Linked DNA regions of Homo sapiens: regions 2 and 3 are each linked to region 1. Evidence: promoter capture Hi-C in human tissues and cell types (Jung and others, 2019). All regions are on one chromosome and are shown on one strand. The core of a region is centred on a gene start or on the middle of the fragment in contact, and the rest is flanking DNA. Distances in the headings are between cores, read along the strand shown. Region 1 holds the start of CACNG5 (calcium voltage-gated channel auxiliary subunit gamma 5). Region 2 overlaps CACNG5 (calcium voltage-gated channel auxiliary subunit gamma 5). Region 3 overlaps CACNG5 (calcium voltage-gated channel auxiliary subunit gamma 5).

Region 1 (3,538 bases), core at 549-3,048:
CCACCCACCCCTTTCCTCACACCCAACACCAGGCAGTCTGCTCACCCCCACTCCATACACTTACTCTTCAATGGCTGGAGGACATGGCGACGGCCCGCAGAGGTGACCCACAGGGCATGGATCCCAGGCCAGCCTCTCTGGCCTTTGCTGGGAAAATGACCTGCAGACTTTGCAAAAGGCACATCTCCTGGGTGCTTTGCCCGTTTTCATCTTTTCATTTCATTGATCCAGCCACCTCTGAGGTTTTCTTTGGTGGTTTTCTCCTTGACAGCTTTAGTCTTGGGGAGATGTGTCCAACTTCCAGTCATTCATTCAGCAAATACAATGTGCCTACTATGCGTCAGACTTTCTCCTTTTAAGGGGCTCCCAGCATAGTTAGGGAGATTGACAGTAAATTCATCATTGCCATACTGGTGAGAGCTGTGCAAGAGGCTCCTGGGCCCAGAGACGAAGAAGAAGAAATCCATTCTTGGATTTCCATCAGGGTATTCTGGGGGATAGAGAAGAACACTCTTGGGGTAGGTGGGAAAAGGGAGAAAAAGCGGAAAACTGCATAGGCCTAAAATGCTGTGAATAGACACGTGGTGTATCCTTTCCAAAAACCTTCAGTTGTCCCAACTCCACCTGGCCCCATTCACATGTGACAAAGTCCTCCCATGTCAGGAGACCTCAGCAACATAGATGCTTCTATAAAAGTTTCTGCCCTACAGTTTTAAACTAATATGTTCACTGCTGATGTCTCATTATTTAGCAACCAACTTTGCCCCCAAATATTTCCACATGCCACATCTTTGACCCCCTCTTGGTCTGCAGGGATTTTACAGGCCTTTGAGGGGAAGCTGCTGGTCTGTGAGCATCTGCACAAGTGTGCCGGACAAAGATATCGGTCAGGCTGCCATTTCAAAGCAATAAAAGATATGTGGCTATGCAGGCCAGGAAGAGTTAGCCCTTGGGTTCCCCTTCCAACCTGGCTGACCACACTGGCTCCAGCTGCCACTTTCAAATTAGTCATAGATTAACAAACATCTATTGAGCACCTATTGGGTGTCCAGGACCCAGAGACTAAAGGAGACATAGAACCTAAGAAAGGAAGAAATGTTTTATTGTTAGTTGCCACCATTTATTGGACATATATTACCATTTTACTGTTAAGAGGGACAAACACTTTGCTTAAGGCCACACAGTACAAAAGCAGAGTGGGGCTTTAAAGGCTCAGATTCTGCACTTAGACAGGCCTGAGCTGCAGTCCTGGCTCTGCCATTTTCCAGCTGTGTGTCCTCAGACTCCTCACTTAAGCGCCCTGTGCCTCAGTCTTCTCATCTGTAAAATGGGATTCGTGTGAGAATTAAATGACTTAATACATGTGAAGCTCATTGAACGCTTACACTAGTAAGTGCTCAATAAATACTAGCTGGCATTGTTGTTCTATCACCATCATCATCATCATCATCATCATCATCATCCTTATTTAAAAGCAGCAGCAACGGCAGAGGCTGCAGCCCCAGCTGCTGGAATTTGAAGGTGAGTCTGACTCCAGGCAGGGTCTCCCAGCCCTATGCGGACTCTGAAAGCCTCTCCTCTCCCACGCCGGCCCCCAACTCTTCACCTGCCACCCCCACAAGGGTGCTCACCCCAGAGGTGCTCACCTCCCGGGCTGGGAGACCGCATCTGACCGGTCCCAAACCCCGCCTGCAGCTGGCAGCGCCGGGGTGGGGAGGCCCCGCCCTCGGCCCCGCCCCCTGCCCGCCCCTCCCTCTCGGGGTCCGGGGCGCGAGCTGCGGCGGCGGCGGCCACGGTCATTGGCGCCGAGCGGTTCCGGCTGACTGGACGGGGCGGGCGTCCCGGGCAGCCTAGCGCGGTACCTCCCGCCCCGCGCGCCCAGCCGGCGAGGGACATTGGACCAGGGTCGGGGGTCGCGGCCGCTCCAGCGAGGTAAGAGCCGGGAAGACCGGGAGAGACCACCTCTTCCATCCTGGGGGGGTCCCTGGGGGACGGTCTCCCACCGGTGCTGGGCCGCGGCGCCGGGCTGCGCCCCCATGACAGCCCAGCCAGGGGCAGGGGCTGGAGAGCCCTAGCGATCGCGCACCCTGGAAGGGGCAGTGTGGTGGGGAGCGCGGGCGTGTGTATGCGCGTGTGCGTGTGTCTGTCTGTCCATCTGTCTGTCCCAAGGATGTATCGGGGGAGATGATGACGCCCCCTCTTTGCAGTCGCTTCTAGGCAATTTACCCATGCCAAAGCTGAGGGCAGACTTTTCCACGACGGACTTGAATGGGGCTGGCAGATTATTATCCGGATAATGCAGGAAGGGATAAGCCCACCACCACCTGTTGAGCTGGGCTGTCGGCCTATGCGGGTCCAACTCCCCGCTTATCACAGCCTGCAGGGTGGCCTCATTTCTCCAGCTCGTGGGACCCGGGGCTTCCTTCTCCCGCCTGTGAGAAGGGTTGATAGGAGGAGGTGTCCCTGCCAGGAGCCACTGAGCAGAGATGGACTCGCGGGGGTGATCAGGGTGGTGCTATGGGGACCCCACCGCAGGTGCTGGGCGTGAGGTGTCAACCACCCAGGCACACCCCAAATTTGGATTTCCCCAATCACTCCAAAACCTCTCATTGTGATTCCCCGATCTTTGCTCTCATCCTAATTTGGCAGTTGATGAAGATGCAGCTCGTTAAAAATGTTAAAGTGAAATCAAATTATCACTTCCTAGGACTGAAAATGATTTGAGAAATAATTCCGGGAGCCTGGCTGGGGAGGAAAGAAGCTCATATTCTGACTAGCTTCTCCAGGGCTGCCCCGGGGCTGCCTCCGGTACCTGCCAGGCACGCCGGTGGTTAAGGAAGCCCTTGTTCCCAGAAAGGAAGGGATTCACCCACTTTGCACTGGATTATCAGTGACTGGGTTAGAGCAGGACCCAGGACAGGATCCCCAAGTGGGAGCTGTCTCAGTTTGACAGATGTCACATACAAGCTGTCACCGAGGCTGGCTTCTGCTCCACATCCATCCTGGGGAACACAAGATGGGGCTTCCCCTCCCAGCCACCTCACACCCATTCCCCTCATTTCCACAAACCTGAAGTCTTGATCAATTAACAGCCAGGATTGCCTGGGTGTGGGTGTGGGACCTTGATTGGCTCTGATGTCCTGGATTCAGAGTATCTCAGGACCACAGGCATCTCAGTGGCAGGTTGGTGGCACCTCTTTGCAGACCCTGTAGCCAGCCCCTCATGCCGAAGTCTCCTGCCTGCCTGAGAAGCCCTAGATCTGCCTCACTTCTCTGCTAACGCAGCCCCTGGAGGTAGCTGGGGGACACCTCATCTCAGGGCCAGGTCCCCAGGGTGCCTAACAGGGTGAAATCTGTGCTTGTGCCTGAGACCTCCCCACCCCCAAACCTCCTCTCTCTTGTCATGTGGAAGGCAGTGGATGTGCTGAGGGGCTGGGTAGTCCAGTTCAACGGAAGATAGAGGTGGCCCTGCTGTGGCTGGGGCTGTTGGTGATGTGAGAACCCCAGCATCCTGGCTGGCTGCACCCCAGGCCCCACA
Region 2 (3,538 bases), core at 703-3,202, 61 kb after region 1:
ATGCGTTGACTGCTCTCCCCGACCTCCAAGGACTCCTTTCAATCTGTCACCCCCTTGGGAGGATCCTGCACATCCTTCCTCAGTGGATCCTTAGAAACTCAATGGTGGGCTTTTTTGCCTGGATTGGGGGAAGAAAAAGTGATGGGGAAAATGAAGTACTCATAATAATTTACCCTGTGATCCTATTAATAATAAATTAGTACTAATATATTATTTTGGTTATTGCTACTGTTTCTTTAGCACCTACTATATAACAGCTTCTGTCCTGGGCTGTTTCTCCGGTGTGATTTCATTTTATTTGCTTTGAATCCTAGTGCAGAATCTGAGTTAGTTACCCTCTCCAGTTCATGATGTGCAGCCATTATTGGTTCACATAAGGCCTGGCTCTTGATTTTTTATTCATTCATTCATTTTTTTTCCTTCCCCCTCCACCCCATGAGCAACCATTCAGATGTGTTTAATATATATATTTTTGTTTCTATGTGCTCCTTAAATGTATATTGTTTTCTGGCATGTGTATTTTAATTTAAATAAAGGGTACTGCATTATATATGCATCTCTCTTTCTCACTTTTTCATCCAGCACTGCTTTTACAATCTTCTGCTTTCCTCCATGAACATATAGTTCATTGCTCCTAACTGCTGCCAAGCACTCCACAGCCTTTACTTTTTGCCTAAACCCCAGTGAAAATCTCAGTAATTAACACCAGGAAAGTGGGATTTGGAGGCCAGAGTCTGACTTGACTCATGTTTAGGATCTGACACCAATTCCCCCAGCACTTCTCTTAGGTAGGGTTGCTTCCAACTCCCCTACAACACACGCACCAAACAGCACTGCTGAAAATACAGCTGTCCGTCTCCCCTTACAGATCTGGCAACCATTTCTTGGGGCTACACCGGGGGGTGGATGTAATGCATCGCAGGCTATGTTTGCACTTAATTTAATCCAACACGTTCTCATTGTTCTTCAGCAAAGATGCTCCAGTTCATACTCCCCGTGTCCCCCATCCCCGCTAAAACAGCCCAGAATTCCTCAGTCTCAACACTATTGACATTTTGAGCCAGAACATTCTTTGTTGTGGGTGCTGATCTTTGCATTGCAGGAAAGTTCAGCAGCATCTCTAGCCCCTACTCACAGGATGCCAGTAGCATTCGTATCCTCTGCTTGTGGCAACCAAAATCTCCAAATGTCCCCTGAGCGGAAAACTGTCTCCAGCTGTGAGCTACCTAGGCTTCCCTAGCTTTCTCCTTTTTGTCAATGTAGTGGGTTCCACCCTACATTTCCAGCAATCCTACAGCCACACTACCCTCAAAACCCCTGATCTCAGAAGTGAAGCAGGGTCAGGCCTGGTTAGTACCCGGCCGGTAGAAGATGGTACAACGAACTCCCTGGTACCCATCACTCAGCTTCCACGAGGACCAACTCATGTCTGACCCCAGATTCTTTAGAAGCAAATCCCAAACATCATATCACTTCTTCTGCAATGATTTCCCGCCATATTGGCAAAAAATCAGGATTCTTTTAAAATCACAATGCCAATAATACACTTAAAACAATAGTTTCTTGATGTCCTCAAATGTCCAGTTCAATGTTCAGATTTTCCTTATTATTATTATTATTATTTTTAGATGGAGTCTCACTCTGTCGCCCAGGCTGGAGTGCAGCGGCGCAATCTTGGCTCACTGCAACCTCCGCCTCCTGGGTTCAAGCAATTCTCTGCCTCAGCCTCCCGAGTAGCTGGGATTACAGGCACCCGCCACCATACCCGGCTAATTTTTGTATTTTTAGTAGAGACAGGGTTTCACCATATTGGCCAGGCTGGTCTTGAACTCCTGACCTCGTGATCCACCCGCCTCAGCCTCCCAAAGTGCTGGGATTACAGGTGTGAGCCACTGAGCCTGGCCGATTTTCCTAGTTATTATCTAAAACATGCATATGTGTCGGTGCTTTCCTGTTTATCAAGACCCATGTAATATCCTGGCCTCACAATTGCTTTCAGGTCTCTTACATTTCATCCTTGAGTTTCTCAGCCTTACCCACTATCAGTCGGCCCATAGCCCGGAATGTTCTGACTGTATCACCCTGGGGTTGGTGAATGTTTCCCTCCATTGCATTTCCTGTGAATTGGTAGACGGATCTAGAAGCTTGATTGGTTGCAGGTCTGACTTGTTGACAGTGAAACTCCTTCAGGAGACATGTGACACCTGGCCATCTGGCTGTCTCTTTTTTTTTTTTTTTTTTTGAGACGGAGTCTCGGTCTGTCATCCAGGCTGGAGTGCGGTGGCGCCATCTCGGCTCACTGCAAACTCCGCCTCCCGGGTTCAAGCAATTCTCCTGCCTCAGCCTCCCAAGTAGCTGGGATTACAGATGGCCACACAACACCCAGCTAATTTTTGTATTTTTAGTAGAGACAGGGTTTCACCATGTTGGACAGGCTGGTCTCGAACTCCTGACCTCAAGTGATCCTCCCGCCTCAGCCTCCCAAAGTGCTGAGATTATAGGCATGAGCCACCGCGCCCGGCCGTGGCTATCTGTCTTCCGGGAAGTTAGCAGTCATTAATAGTCACAGCCCAGGTTCATTACGCTGTTAGTGGTTGCGCAGAGGTGATGTTCTAACACCATTCTTTCTTCATTATGAGCTGGAGTACTGCTGTTCTGAGAAACCGCCCTTCAACTGCTCTCAAGTTTCTCTACTTTGGTCCTCATTCCACCCTGTGGCTGCACACAACTGCCCTACAGATGCACCCAGGCCCCAGTGCATGGACATGGAGACCGTTTCCAGCAAAAACATCCACCTGTAACATTCTGCCAGCCCCCCATCCTCAGAAGTCACTCTCATCTTCATTTTTCACAAATCTCCAAGTCGTGAATATTTGTGTCCTTATCCTTTCTGGCTCCTGTGTTTTTCTTCTGCTTCAAGGCCATGAAACAACCACATTGAGACGTCTCCTCTAAGAAGTCTGCCCTGATTCAATGTCTCGAGAATGGCCACTTCTTTGCCAGGTTTTGGAGAGGCCCAGGGCAAGGCTAGAGGCCATTCCCAGGGAGGCTGGGAGGGTTTCAAGTTTGCCTTGGCACAGAGCGATGTTGCCGGGAGCTAACACCCCCACTTCTGCTCCCACGTGGAGAGGGGCCTTTCCTGGAGGCCCCCGCCAGCTGTGAGTCACCAGCTCCTGAGCCCCAAACCCCATAGAAGAAATGCAAATGGATTCTGGTGAATAGAGAACTCAAGCCACCTCCGTGTGGGAGAGGATGTTATAATATCAGGCTGTCGGCAAATTAACGTTATTAAACAAATGCACCAAAATAGCAGCCATAATTATTCCCATACAGTAGCTCAATCTGGAACTTTCAGGGTGTTTTTGTTCCCCCCCCAAACACAGGGCTGTCGCTGCTCCTGTGGTCCTTCCTCCTTCCTTCTCTGCAAGATGCTGCAGAGCAAAGGGGCCTCAAGCAAGCTCCCAGAACCTCTTTGTTTCCCTGGGAAATGATAAAATCATGGGAGCTAAGATTTCTTCAACACCTAAGTGCCAGGCCC
Region 3 (3,538 bases), core at 503-3,002, 40 kb after region 1:
AAGCTCTGATCCATTCTCTCTGCAAGACTCAGGGGCTTAGTCCACTGTTGCTTAATAACAATACCTTATACCAGGATCATGCTTTAGACTTTTTTCAAAGCATAGTCATATCTGCTGTCGTGTTTAATCACACCAGCAATTTTGTGGAGTGAGCAAGGCAGGTCTTCCTATTCTTCCTGGCAGGCAGTGTGGTTCCCAAAGTGGGTTTCACAGAACATGATGTCTTTTTTTTTTCTTTGCTCAAATAAGTTTGGAAAATACAGAAATAAGCAAAGCTAAGCAGGCTTTTCAAAGCCTTTACCATAATGTGCAATGCGGTTCTTCAAGAGCTAGGTGCAGTGCTTCTCACAAGCTGTTTTTTTTTTTTTTTTCCTTTTAACCAGAGTCACTTTTTCTAGAATATTCCATGGAATTATTGCTCCATGGACCCCACTTTGGATAAACTCATGGGGTGGGAGTTTGAGAACGCAAGCCTTGAAAAAGGGCTTGGGAGTGGGGCAAGGTAAGGTTCAAATGCAGGCACCAACATTTGCCAGCTGAGTGCTCTTGTGCAAGCTTCTTAACCTCACTGATCATCAGTTTGCTCACCTGTAAAATGGGTGTGGTAATAGAATAGCCAGGATTAAAATGGGGAGTAAGGTGCTTAACAGGATGCCTAACAATGATAAACGTTCAATGTACTTTGGTGTTTATTATTAGTCTCTTCCTCCATGTTATCCAGGAGAAAATCAGTCTTCAGAGAGTGTCTTAGTTTGTTCTGTGTTGCTATAACAGAATACCTGAGACTGGATAATTTATAAAGAAAAGAGGTTTATTTAGCTCTTGGTTCTGCAGGCTGAGACGTTCAAGGCCATATCCCTGGCCTGTGATGAGGGCTTTCATAGGGCATCACGACAGAGCAGAGAAGGGCAAGAAGGAAACGGAGAAAACCTGAGGCTTTATAACAACTGTCTCAAGGGAACTAATTCATTCCTTCAAACTAATCCAGTCTTCGAGGGTGAGAACTCACCACCATGAAAACAGCACCAAGCCATTCCTGAGGGATTCCATGACCCCAGACACCTTCTGCTAGGCACACCTCCCAACACTACCACATTGAGGATCAAATTTCAACATGAGCTTTGGTGGGGGCAAACAAACCACCTTATCCGAACCATAGCAGAGAGGTTAATTTCCCAAGCTTACATGGATCTTTAGTGGCACGGTTGAGTGTAAGTTCAAGGCTCTGTTCGCCTTTGGGAGCCATATCCCTTTGTTCTCCACTGCTCCCCTTACTCCTGCTAACCATCCTTGGTGTTTCAATTCCATTTCCTTTGGCAGATGTTGGGACTTTGTGAGCTTCAAGTGTAAATGACAGGGTTTGGCTAACTACTATTAATATAAAAATACTATCAGTACAACGTCACTAGCACTTCCCACCAGTCGGCAGCAGCCTTGCCCTGGACCTCTGCTAGGAGTTGGCTTCTCTTCCCCAGGACCTGGGTTCTGCCTGTTATGATGCTACCCCACCTTCAGTCAGAATGGGATGCTGTGGTTTCCCATTTTTCCAGCTCGCAAACTCTGCAAGCGGCAGCACCTCTGATTTTGTTGCCTCTTCCTCAGCTGCAAGCACAGGGCTTATAGGCGCTTTACTAGATACTCATGCTAGATACAAACTGTCCTGCTCCCCTCTGCCCACGCTGTTGCATGGAGAATGATTTGGCTGGGTGGAGAGGGCTGTTTGGTGTTTCATTTCTCCCTCCTTTGTCAAAGCCAACACAGGAAGGATCATTGTGGCTTAAAGCCCTGTGCTCTTCAGCCTTGCAAACATGGACATAGACTCACACATGCCTCCAGGAAGCCAATATATGGCTCACTCTGTAGATCAATCAACTTTCCCATGATCAACTGCTAGAGCAGGGCCGGCGCTGTGGAATCAGGGCCAGCGTGCACCCCTCAACCCCTTCTCACAAAGAGGCTCTAAACTCTGCCACTCTCCTCCTACAGTCAACTCAGACTCTGCAGACAAATCTGGCTTCTGTCCATTTTCAGCTGCCTCAATACCCACCTGTGCCTCAAATCTCAACTGGAACATGATACCATCCCTGGGGCAGGGCCCTAGGACTCCACTGGAGCCCTGATATTGGTGGACTGCACCGAAGCACTGCTGCACCTCTTTCCCAAACATCACTAACATCCAGTTTCAAAAGTTCTGACTTTGCAATATTGCAAGGTGCCAGTGAAAGATGCCGACAGGATAGCAAACTTGCAGCCAAGGGTGGCTTGGGTGACACAACCTTTCTGAGTTGCCCCAGGCCTCATTCTCTTCTAGAGATGGCTCTGCCTGCCCCCTCCAGCCCCACTGGATGACCCCTTCTGGGCCCTTGTCATATCCTGGGCTTTCCCCATCATAGCAGTTGCTACATTACAATGCCATCAACTGTTTGCTTGGCACAGCACTTCTCAGATTTTAGTAGGCAGACAACTCACCGGGATCCTGTTAAAATGCAGATTTCAATTTAGGATGTTGGAGAGGCCAGAGAGTCTACTTTTCTAACCAGCTGCATGGTGATGCCTACATGGCTGGTCCATGGACCATACTTTGAGTAGCGAAGATCAGTTGTTTTGAACTTTGGCTACACATTAGAATCACCTGGCAGAATTTAAAAAATACCATTGTCCAGGCCCCACTTGAGCTCAATTGTATCAGAATCTCTTGGAGCAGCACCAGGGTATCAGGGATTTTTAGACACTTCCTAGGTGATTCTAGATTACAGCCAGAGCACAGAAGCCCTGAGACTGGCTATGGGCTCCACGGGGGCTGGCATCCATCTGCCTTGCTCTCCACTGTTTTCCAGCTCCAAGTCCAGTGCCTGACCCTGGCAGATATCAGCAGGTGGGGCTTGTGGTTGACCTTGCTTAGACACTTAGCTTCTCTTTTTCTCGTTCATTGCTGGCCCCTGCCGATACAGCGTGCTGAGCAGGTAAGAGTCAGCCCATTTCTGATTAGGTGGATTTAGGAGGCTGTTGCACTTGGACTGTGGTATGGCTTCTTTACTTGTGTTGACCAAGTGCTGCAACTTATTAGAGTCACATGAGGAGGACACTTTCCTCCAAGAAATCTTCCCTGCCTCTCTACTCCTTCCCAAGGCTGCTGCCATTTTCCTGTCTGGAGCTGGCATCTCTCACAGAGACTATTTGAGCCTCAGAATCCTTTTCAACACAGAGAAGCTCACCCAGCAGAGTTGTCTCCTCCATTCTTCCTCTCTACTTCCTGGACAGGTCTCTACCACAGCCCTCAATAGGTCGCATTTAATTGCTTTGGGGGTGCCTTTGTTCTTCTAGATGGGAAACCCTTCAATGGCAAGGATAGTGTCATGTTCATTTTTGTATCTCCCATGTCTGGCACAATGGGTTGCTGAATGAATGAATGAATGAATGAATGAATGAATGAATGGCAGTACCCAGCAAGGGGACTCCCAGAGAGGACAAGGGGGTCCTTGCAGTGGCATGCCAAGAACGCTCTGAATTGCTGCGGGGTTAGGGGGAGGGTGGCACC

Evidence for each region. Contacts are between HindIII fragments. The study calls those that stand out against the background at their distance.
Region 2: a contact is called between a fragment that was not itself captured here and the fragment with the promoter of CACNG5 in region 1, in 3 of the 25 tissues and cell types used here (aorta, lymphoblastoid cells and ovary).
Region 3: a fragment that was not itself captured here is called in contact with the fragment with the promoter of CACNG5 in region 1 in 5 of the 25 tissues and cell types used here (H1 embryonic stem cells, adrenal gland, dorsolateral prefrontal cortex and 2 more).

Annotation. Positions count from the first base shown.
Region 1 is chr17:66,833,319-66,836,856 of GRCh38, forward strand. CACNG5 (calcium voltage-gated channel auxiliary subunit gamma 5) reads left to right here and starts at 1,799. Exons shown (of 6, transcript NM_145811.3): 1 at 1,799-1,932. The HindIII fragment of the contact is 10,169 bases long and covers 1-3,538 here.
Region 2 is chr17:66,894,202-66,897,739 of GRCh38, forward strand. CACNG5 (calcium voltage-gated channel auxiliary subunit gamma 5) reads left to right here. Exons shown (of 6, transcript NM_145811.3): 6 at 1-550. It also overlaps the pseudogene RNA5SP446. Among named protein-coding and RNA genes, the nearest start is that of CACNG5, 61 kb to the left of the region's middle. The HindIII fragment of the contact is 8,798 bases long and covers 1-3,538 here.
Region 3 is chr17:66,873,582-66,877,119 of GRCh38, forward strand. The region is part of intron 1 of CACNG5 (calcium voltage-gated channel auxiliary subunit gamma 5); the gene reads left to right. Among named protein-coding and RNA genes, the nearest start is that of CACNG5, 40 kb to the left of the region's middle. The HindIII fragment of the contact is 7,302 bases long and covers 1-3,538 here.